Linked DNA regions of Homo sapiens: all the other regions are linked to region 2. The links are contacts of gene promoters, found by promoter capture Hi-C in human tissues and cell types (Jung and others, 2019). All regions are on one chromosome and are shown on one strand. Each heading gives the region's core, a stretch centred on a gene start or on the middle of the fragment in contact. The rest is flanking DNA. Distances are from core to core; before and after follow the strand shown. Region 1 overlaps MEIKIN (meiotic kinetochore factor). Region 2 holds the start of ACSL6 (acyl-CoA synthetase long chain family member 6). Region 3 overlaps FNIP1 (folliculin interacting protein 1).

What was found. The method cuts DNA at HindIII sites, captures the fragments that hold promoters and counts their contacts. A contact is called where the count stands out against the background at its distance.
Region 1: a contact is called between a fragment that was not itself captured here and the fragment with the promoter of ACSL6 in region 2, in 1 of the 25 tissues and cell types used here (aorta).
Region 3: a contact is called between a fragment that was not itself captured here and the fragment with the promoter of ACSL6 in region 2, in 1 of the 25 tissues and cell types used here (mesendoderm cells).

Annotation. Positions count from the first base shown.
Region 1 is chr5:131,841,506-131,844,205 of GRCh38, forward strand. The region is part of intron 11 of MEIKIN (meiotic kinetochore factor); the gene reads right to left. Among named protein-coding and RNA genes, the nearest start is that of FNIP1, 46 kb to the left of the region's middle. The HindIII fragment of the contact is 8,494 bases long and covers 1-2,700 here.
Region 2 is chr5:132,010,039-132,012,981 of GRCh38, forward strand. ACSL6 (acyl-CoA synthetase long chain family member 6) reads right to left here and starts at 1,620. Exons shown (of 21, transcript NM_001009185.3): 1 at 1,467-1,620. The coding sequence starts at 1,515. It overlaps LOC124901062 (a long non-coding RNA gene), which reads left to right and starts at 1,418. Exons shown (of 2, transcript XR_007058933.1): 1 at 1,418-1,507. The HindIII fragment of the contact is 8,903 bases long and covers 1-2,943 here.
Region 3 is chr5:131,790,541-131,793,240 of GRCh38, forward strand. The region is part of intron 1 of FNIP1 (folliculin interacting protein 1); the gene reads right to left. Among named protein-coding and RNA genes, the nearest start is that of FNIP1, 5.1 kb to the right of the region's middle. The HindIII fragment of the contact is 6,324 bases long and covers 1-2,700 here.

The DNA of each region.
Region 1 (2,700 bases), core at 192-2,691, 170 kb before region 2:
ATAGCTTGAAATTAGGAGGTGTGATGCCTCCAGCTTTGTTGTTTCTAAAGATTGCTTTGGCTATTTGAAATCTTTTGTGGTTCCATATGAATTTTAGGATTGTTTTTTCTATTTCTGTGAAAAATTACATGGGAATCTGGATAATGATTGTAACGAATCTGTAGATCACTTTGACATGTGGACATTTTAACAACATTACTTCCTCCAATCAATGAAATGGTATATCATTACATTTATTTGTGCCTTCAATTTCTTTCATTAATGTCTTATAATTTTTAGTATATAGCTCTTTTGCCTCCTTGGTTGTATTTGTTCCTAAGGATATTATTTTCTTAATCCCTTTTTTGGAAGCTCACTGTTAGTGAATAAAGACAACTGATTTTTGTATATTGACTTTGTATCCTGTAATAAGATATTGTTTATTAGTTCTAACAGTTTTCATTGAAGTCTTTAGTTTTTCTTTCATGTGAAATCATGTCATCTACAGAGACAATTTAACTTCTTTTTTTTTTTGAGACAGAGTCTCACTCTGTCTCCAGTCTGGAGTGCAGTGGCACGATCTTGGCTCACTGCAACCTCCACCTCACAGGTTCAGGGACTACAGGTGCATGCCATCACGCCCAACTAATTTTTGTATTTTTAGTAGAGATGGGGTTTTACCATGTTGGCCAGGATGATCTCAATCTCTTGACCTCGTGATCTGCCTGCCTCGGTCTCCCAAAGTGCTGGGATTACAGGTGTGAGCCACCTTGCCTGGCCAACTTCTTTTTCAATGTGGATGCTTTTTATTTCTTTTCATTGCCTAATTGCTCTGGCTCAGACTTCTAGTACTATGCTGAATAGAAGTAGCAAGAATGGGTACTCAGGTCTTGTTGCTCATTTTAGAAGAAACTTTCAGCTTTTTATCATTGAGTATATTAGTTGTGGGCTTATCATTAATGGCCTTTATTGTGTTGAGGTACATTCCATCTATACCTAATTTGTTGAGAGTTTTTATCATTAAAAATTTTGGATTTTGTCAATGGTTTTTAAGCATTGATTGCAATGATAATACGTTTTTTCTTCTCTTGATGTTTTTCATTGTGATTTGTTGATTTTTTTTTGCAATAGTGTGTGTTCATTCTTTTCTATTTATCTTTTGTGTATTTACTAAAGGATTGTTCTCTGTGGTTACCATAGGGCTCACATAAAACATCTTGTAGTTAGAACATTCTATTTTAAGCTGATAACAACTTAACTTCAATCACATACATTCTATGCTTTTACTCCACCCTTCCACATTTTATGCTTTGGATATCATGCTTTACAACATCTTTTTATTTTGTGTAGTCTTTAACAAATGATGGTAGCTCCAACCCCACATTTTCCCTCCACACTGCCCTAGTAGAGGTTTTCCATGAGGGCTCTGCCCCTGCAGCAGACTTCTGCCTGGATGTCCAGGTGTTTCCATACAGCCTCTGAAATCTAGGCAGAGGTTCCCAAACCTCAACTCTTGCCTTCTGTGCACCTGCAGGCCCAACACCATGTGGAAGCCACCAAGGTTTGGGGCTTACCCTCTTAAGCAATAACTTGAACTGTACCTTGGCCCCTTTTGGCCATGGATGGAATTGGAGTGGCTGGGATGTAGGGCGCCATGTCCCAAGGCTGCACAGAGCAGCAAGGCCCTGGGCCTGGTCCAGAAAACCATTTTTCCCTCCCAGGCCTCCAGGCCTGTGATGGGAGGGGCTGTTGTGAAGGTCTCTGAAATTCCCTGTAGGTATTTTTCCCACTGTCTTGGATATTAACACAGCTCCTCTTTACTTACACAAATTTCTGCAGCTGGCTTGAATTTCTCCCATCAGAAAATGGGTTTTTCTTTTCTACCACCTGGTCAGGCCACAAATTTTCCATACTTTTATGCTCTTCTTCCTTTTTAAATGTAAGTTCCAATTCAGACCACCTCTTTGTGAACAACACATATAAACATAGGCTGTTAGAAGAAGCCAAGCCACGTCTTGAATGCTTTGCTTAAAAATTTCTCCCACCAGATATCTTAAATTATTTCTCTCAAGTTCAAAGTTCCACAGATCTTTACAGCAGGAGCACAATGCTGCCAGTATATTTACTAAAGCATAGCAAGAGTAACCTTTACTCCAGCTCCCAATAAGTTCCTCAGCTCCATCTGAGACCTCATCAGCCTGGCCATCTCTGTCCATATCACTATCAGCATTTTGGTCAAAACCATTCAACAAGTCTCCAGGAAGTTCCAAACCTTCCCTCATGTTCCTGTCTTCTTCTGAGCCCTCCAAACTGTTTCAGTCTCTGCCCATTACTCAGTTCCAAAGCTGCTATCATATTTTCAGGTACCTTTATAGCAATGCCCCATTTCTCTGATATCAATTTTCTGTATTAGTCTGTTCTCACATTGCTATAAATAACTACCTGAGACTGGGTAGTTTATAAAGAGAAGAGGTTTAATTGACTCACAGTTCCACAGGCTGTACAGGAGTTATGGCTGGGGAGGCCTCAGGAAACATGGTTACGGCAGAATGTGAGGTGGAAGCAAGCATATCTTCATGTGGCAACAGGAGAAAAAGAAAAGGGAGAAGTGCCACACACTTTCAAACAACTAGATCTCGTGAGCATTCACTCACTGTCACAAGAACAGCAAGGGGGAAACTGCCCCCATGATTCAATCACCTCCCACTAGATCCCTCCCCC
Region 2 (2,943 bases), core at 370-2,869:
ACCATTATTTTAATTATCCTTGCCCTTTACCTCCAACCCCAGCTCTAGCCCTGCCCTTGTCTGCTGGATGTGCCTCAGGACCAGAGTGCCCCTGCACAGCCAGTCACAGACACTGGCAGACAGAAGGAGCTTAGGGAGCTGAGGGGATTAGGGAGGCTTCACTCACTCTCCCAGCTCAGGGGAAGTGTCCCTGTGGCCTAACTTAAGGAAATGGTGGGGGTGAAGGAAGTGATTACTAGGCCCACCAACCCTCCAGGTTCAGGCCTGATCCAGCCAAGCACTTAGCATTGGTTGATCAATTAAAACCTCGAATGGAATCCCAGTCTGCCAAATATCCATGTGACACTAGGCAAGTCAATTGACCTCTGAACTCAGTAAAAAAAGGGATGGTGCCACCGACCTCCTAGGGTTTTCCATGAATATTAAATAACACGTACAAAGCCTCAGGTAAAGATTTCAAGAGGGTCAACTTCCTCCCCTTCCTTGGCTCAGAAAAAGCTTTATTACCACTTCTGATGGTGCTGTTTGAATGTGAGATAATAATAAACACTAACATTCATAGAGCATTTGCTGTGGCCTAGGACAGGTTTAAGGCCAATTTAAGGATCAAGCACTGCACACAAATTATCAGGCTGAATCTGCACATGGGGGTTGGGGTGGAGGTGGAGATCCTTTAGTGGTATTATACTCTGGAGGACCCCAGGCTCAGAGAGGGGAAGTAGCCGGTGCAGGTGGTAGAACTGGCAGATAAAAGGGCCTGTGGTGAGACTCCAGGTGTGGGTGTATGGGGGGTTGAGGGAGGTAAGCGCGGAGGCGGGATCGAGCAGGGGTCCTTGTAGCCGCCTAAGAAGTGCAGTGGTGAAGCTGACTCCTGTGAGGTGGAGGGGAGGGGTCTGGAAACAGTGGAGACACAGCAGCCCTGGGCAGAGCAGAGGAGCCAGGTGAACCCTACCTTACAGAAATCTTGTACTCTGGCTGAAGGACGGGCAGGGAGGGGTCGTGAGGAAGCCCCTCGCCGGGATCAGGAAGCCTAGGTCAGTCCGGGTTACATAGCTGACCTGCTGTGGGACCTCGGGGACCAACACCCTCGGTTTCTGGTCCCAGGAGATGGACAAGGACGCAATGTCTGTTCCTGGCCTTGGCTCAGGGCCTAATCTGATCCGCGGATGGTCCTTGCCATCAGGGAAGGGGGACGCAAGAACTCGGCGGGGGTTTGTGGTGGGGTCGCAGAGAGCAAGCCCTATATCTCCCTCCGCAGACCCAGGTGCTCCCCAAACCCGGCCCGGAGCCCGCGAGAACTGGGGGCGGAGGGTGTACTTAGGCGGCCCTGGGGACCTTGACGGGACAGCTCAGCAGCAGGGGATGGGGGCTCGGCGGCCGCGGAGATGTAACACCTCCACCTCGGGCGAAGACCTCATAGCCTGCGGGAGATGGGAGTCCGGGACGCGGACAGGACGGGCACTTACCTACGAATAGCCAGAGGGAGCCCCCCGACACGAGGAAGAAGGTCAGCATGGCGGTCAGCGGGGCCCGGCCCGGCCCGGCCCGGCCTCCCCGACCCGCAGCCCCGCAGCCCCGCAGCCCAGCAGCCCCAGCAGTAGCCGCGCCGCCGCCGCCGCTGCCGGGTATTTTTAGCCCCCGCCCTCCGGCCCCGCAGCTCCCGCCTCCCCGCGCCGCTGCGGAGACGGCTCAAGGGGGAGGGCGCGGCGCGCACTCGCAACCGAGCCTTACTCCCTGCCCTGCAGCCTGGCCGGCCGGGTCTGGGGCTTGCCCCGCACTGACCGCGGTGTCGGAACCGCCAAGCTCCCGGGCGGGGGAGGGGCCCGGCCGCAGAGCGAACCAGCCCTCTCCGGCCCCGCTCTCCAACGTCAGTACCTGGCATTCTGCGGAAACCGGCTGGAAGGGGGAGCACGGGCGACGAGCGCCAGAGCGTGACATTGAGCCCACCCCGCCGCCACCCACCCCATCAACACGCGACCCTGCCCCCGCGCGACTCGCAGCCTGGGTTTTATGGCTGGGCAGGCTCGAATGGCAGCCGGGTCGCGGTTACCTGTCCTAGGAGGTGCACACTCCTGTGGGCTGTTGCCCGCTGACACCAACGCCCCCTAGGACCCGAGTTTGCAGACATGGGGAGCCTCCGGGTGCCACCTCTGCAAACCAGTGAGGGGAGGGAGTGGCAAGTGTTCACCTAGGCTCTGACAAATCAGGCAGCTAGACCAGATAGTGCCCAGATCATCTGGGGACGCACGAGTTCAGGTCTGAGGCTACGCAAGGTCACAGGAGACTCAGTGTGATCACAGGCTGCCATATGTGTTCACCAGTAGTAACATGGTCACAGGCAGCCACATGGAATCACAGGTGTCTCATGAGGAAATCATGATCTTCGTACACAACTGTATGTGGCACACGAGGTCTCAAGAAGCCCCTCATAGCCACAATAAATGGCCATATAGCCACACACAGCCACAGATGCCCACACTGCTGGGCTGAGGGCTTGGACACCTGTTGCAGTGTCTGCCATTGAAAGGAGGAAGCCCAGTTGCACATTTTCTGAAATAATAAGGGTAGGCATCCTGGTGGGCACCCCATGAACATCTGCACCTCCAAGCAAGATCACCTCTTCCCAATGCCCTTGCTTGTTTTCCTCAAGCATGCAGAGCCCACCAGGACTCCAGCACCGAGGACAGCGCTCAGGCAGCCGGGCCTTCTCTATACGCAGCCCTCCCAGGCCAGGAGCTGGCTGAGCCACAGCCCAGAAAGAAGAGGATAGAAAACCAGAGAGCAGAAGTCAGGAAGCAGAGAGTGGAAGAGCATGAGATCTCTTCAGGCCCACCAGAGACCATCAGCCATGAGTGCATGTGGGCTCACAGCTCAGCAGCTGGGTGTGTGGGGGGGCCTGTATCTGTAGTACGAGTACATGGCATGTGTGTGCCCAGGCCTGTG
Region 3 (2,700 bases), core at 65-2,564, 220 kb before region 2:
CTATTCCCCATACACAACCCCTTACGTGAATTTACAGAGTTCTGACTATAAAATAAATCTTGATGCTTAACACTGAAGAAAAGGCTCAAGTAAGCAAAGAAGAGAGACGTGGACAATGACAACTATGACAGATGTCACAGAAGGACATGCAATAAGCTATGAAACAAAGTTACAGTCAGACCTACTCTAGTCTGGAAGAAATCAGAAAAGGCTTCCTGGAGGAAGTAGTAATTAGAATAAGCCCAGATGATCACTACAAAAAGCCAAACAAAAAGGTATAAGGGACTATATCAAGAACAGGGAGCAGTACAGCTTGGCACATCCCAGAATCTAAAATAAATCAAAGGTGATAAACTCTTAGAAGGAGGAGTGTAGATTAAGACATAGGCCAGAAGAAAGCAAGAAGTTATCAAAGATTAATGAGGTCATGTCAAAAAGAAACAGAAGTCAACCTAAAAAGGCTTCCATTGGCCAAATATGAGACAATTTGACAGGAGTGGATTAAAACACACTAAAATCCAATAGCTCATGATAATCTTTTAAGATGATAATTAAAACAAAAAACCTGCAGTGAACAGCTCATTACCAATTACTTTGGAAAATGACAAAGGGAAATCACCTTTTATGCTCCCTTTTCTGTAGCAAGGAGTAACCAAATAGTTGATAAAAGTTATTCCAGCAAATAAATGCATAAAAAATTAGAGAATCAGGATATCACCATTTTGCAAACTCTAACAAAATAATGAATTCAGGCAATGATCAACAAAGAATGCTAAAATCATTAGTTAAAGGGCAAATTATGTAATAGAAGAATAAGGCTGATACCACCTGAAATCACTACAAGTGGGGCAACCAGGTAGGTAACTTTGATGAATAGGAAGTACACAACATCTACAAAATAATTTTATTGAAAAAAAGGGAATGTAAATATGATAAAATATCTAAATCGAACTTCAAGTTTTCAGGAAAGACAAGAAACAGAGAAATAGGTTATAGCAAACTTACAGCAAACCTGAGCATCAGAATTGCCTGGAGGGGCTTTTTAAACCACATATTGCTGGGAAACCATAAGACTGGAAAAGCCAAACACAGAATGTGGGGAATTTCACATTTAAGTGGGGGAGGGCTGTTATAGAATAAAATTTACTTAAGCTGCCTAACTGCAAATGCAATATACAGACTCTTAAGACTGATTCAAACAAAACTACCATAAAAAGACATATTGAGATGACACCAAATTGGAATATGGACTAAGAATGGCTTTTATTAAGGAATTTCTGTTAATTCTATTAACAATAATACTATAGTGGCTTTTTTAAAAAATGTCATTATGGAAAGAAAAAAAAAAAGTCAAGGCTAGCAAATTAGCAAAAGCCATACTATGTAGAATGGGCAAAAGCCATCCTTTAATGAGTCTGGGCCCAAACTAAGTGGTTTTTACACAAAACTGATATAACAGTAACAACTACTTCTGGTTCCTGAAAGCCATGTGCTAAGCACCACATTAAGTTCTTTACATGACTTATCTCTGAATCCTTAAAATAAACCTGTTATGAAGATATTAAATTCTATACATCATTTTGTCTCATTTTGTCTGCTGTTCATGATGATAACTGGCACTTTTTTTTTTTTTTTTTGAGACGGAGTTTCACTCTTGTTGCCCAGGGTGGAGTGCAATGGCGCGATCTCAGCTCACTGCAACCTCCGCCTCCCGGGTTCAAGCGATTCTCCTGCCTCAGCCTCCTGAGTAGCTGGGATTACAGGCGCCCGCCACCACACCCAGCTGATTCTTGCATTTTTAGTAGAGATGGGGTTTCACCACATTGGCCAGGCTGGTCTGGAACTCCTGACCTCAGGTGATCCACCTGCCTCGGCCTCCCAAAGTGCTGGGATTACAGGCATGAGCCACCGTGCCCAGCCACAATTGGCACTTTTTAAAAAGTGACATATTGAGGGTAGTTTGGAAAAAGGCAAGAGTGATCACAGAAAGACCAGTTAAAAGGCTGAGTACCTTAAGAATCCCTGATATAAAGAATCAGAATAAATGTTCATATATTTGGGATACAGGATGAGCATCTCTAGTCCAAAATTTTTTTGATCACTGACAAGACGCCACAGTGGAAAACTTCACATCTGACTTCATGTGAGGAGTCAAAATGCAGTCGACACTTTGTGCACAAAATCATTAAAAAGTACTGTATAAATTATGTGCTATTATGTGTACAAGGTATGTATGAAATAAAAATGAATTTTATGTTTAGACTTAGGTCCCACCTCTGAAAAAACACATTATGCATATGCAAGTATTCAAAAATCCAAAAAATTCCACAATCCAAAACACTTCTAGAACCAGGCATTTCAGGTAAAGGATACTCAACCTGTATAACAAAAATCCAGACATTATTTAACAAAACATTAATTATGCCCTACAAACATTTCACTTCAAAACAACCTTCTTTGCCAAATTAGTTTTCAGGAATTTTATTTAAAACAATCTTTTTTTTTGAGACAGGATTTCACTCTGTTGCCCAGGCTAGACTAGTGCAGTGGCGCAATCATGGCTCATCACTGCAGCCTTAACCTCCCAGGCTAAGCAACCTCCCACCTCAGCATCCTGAGTAGCTAGGACTACAGGTGCATGCTGCCACACATGGCTAATTTTTTATATTTTTTGTAGAGACAGGGGTTTTGCCATGTTGC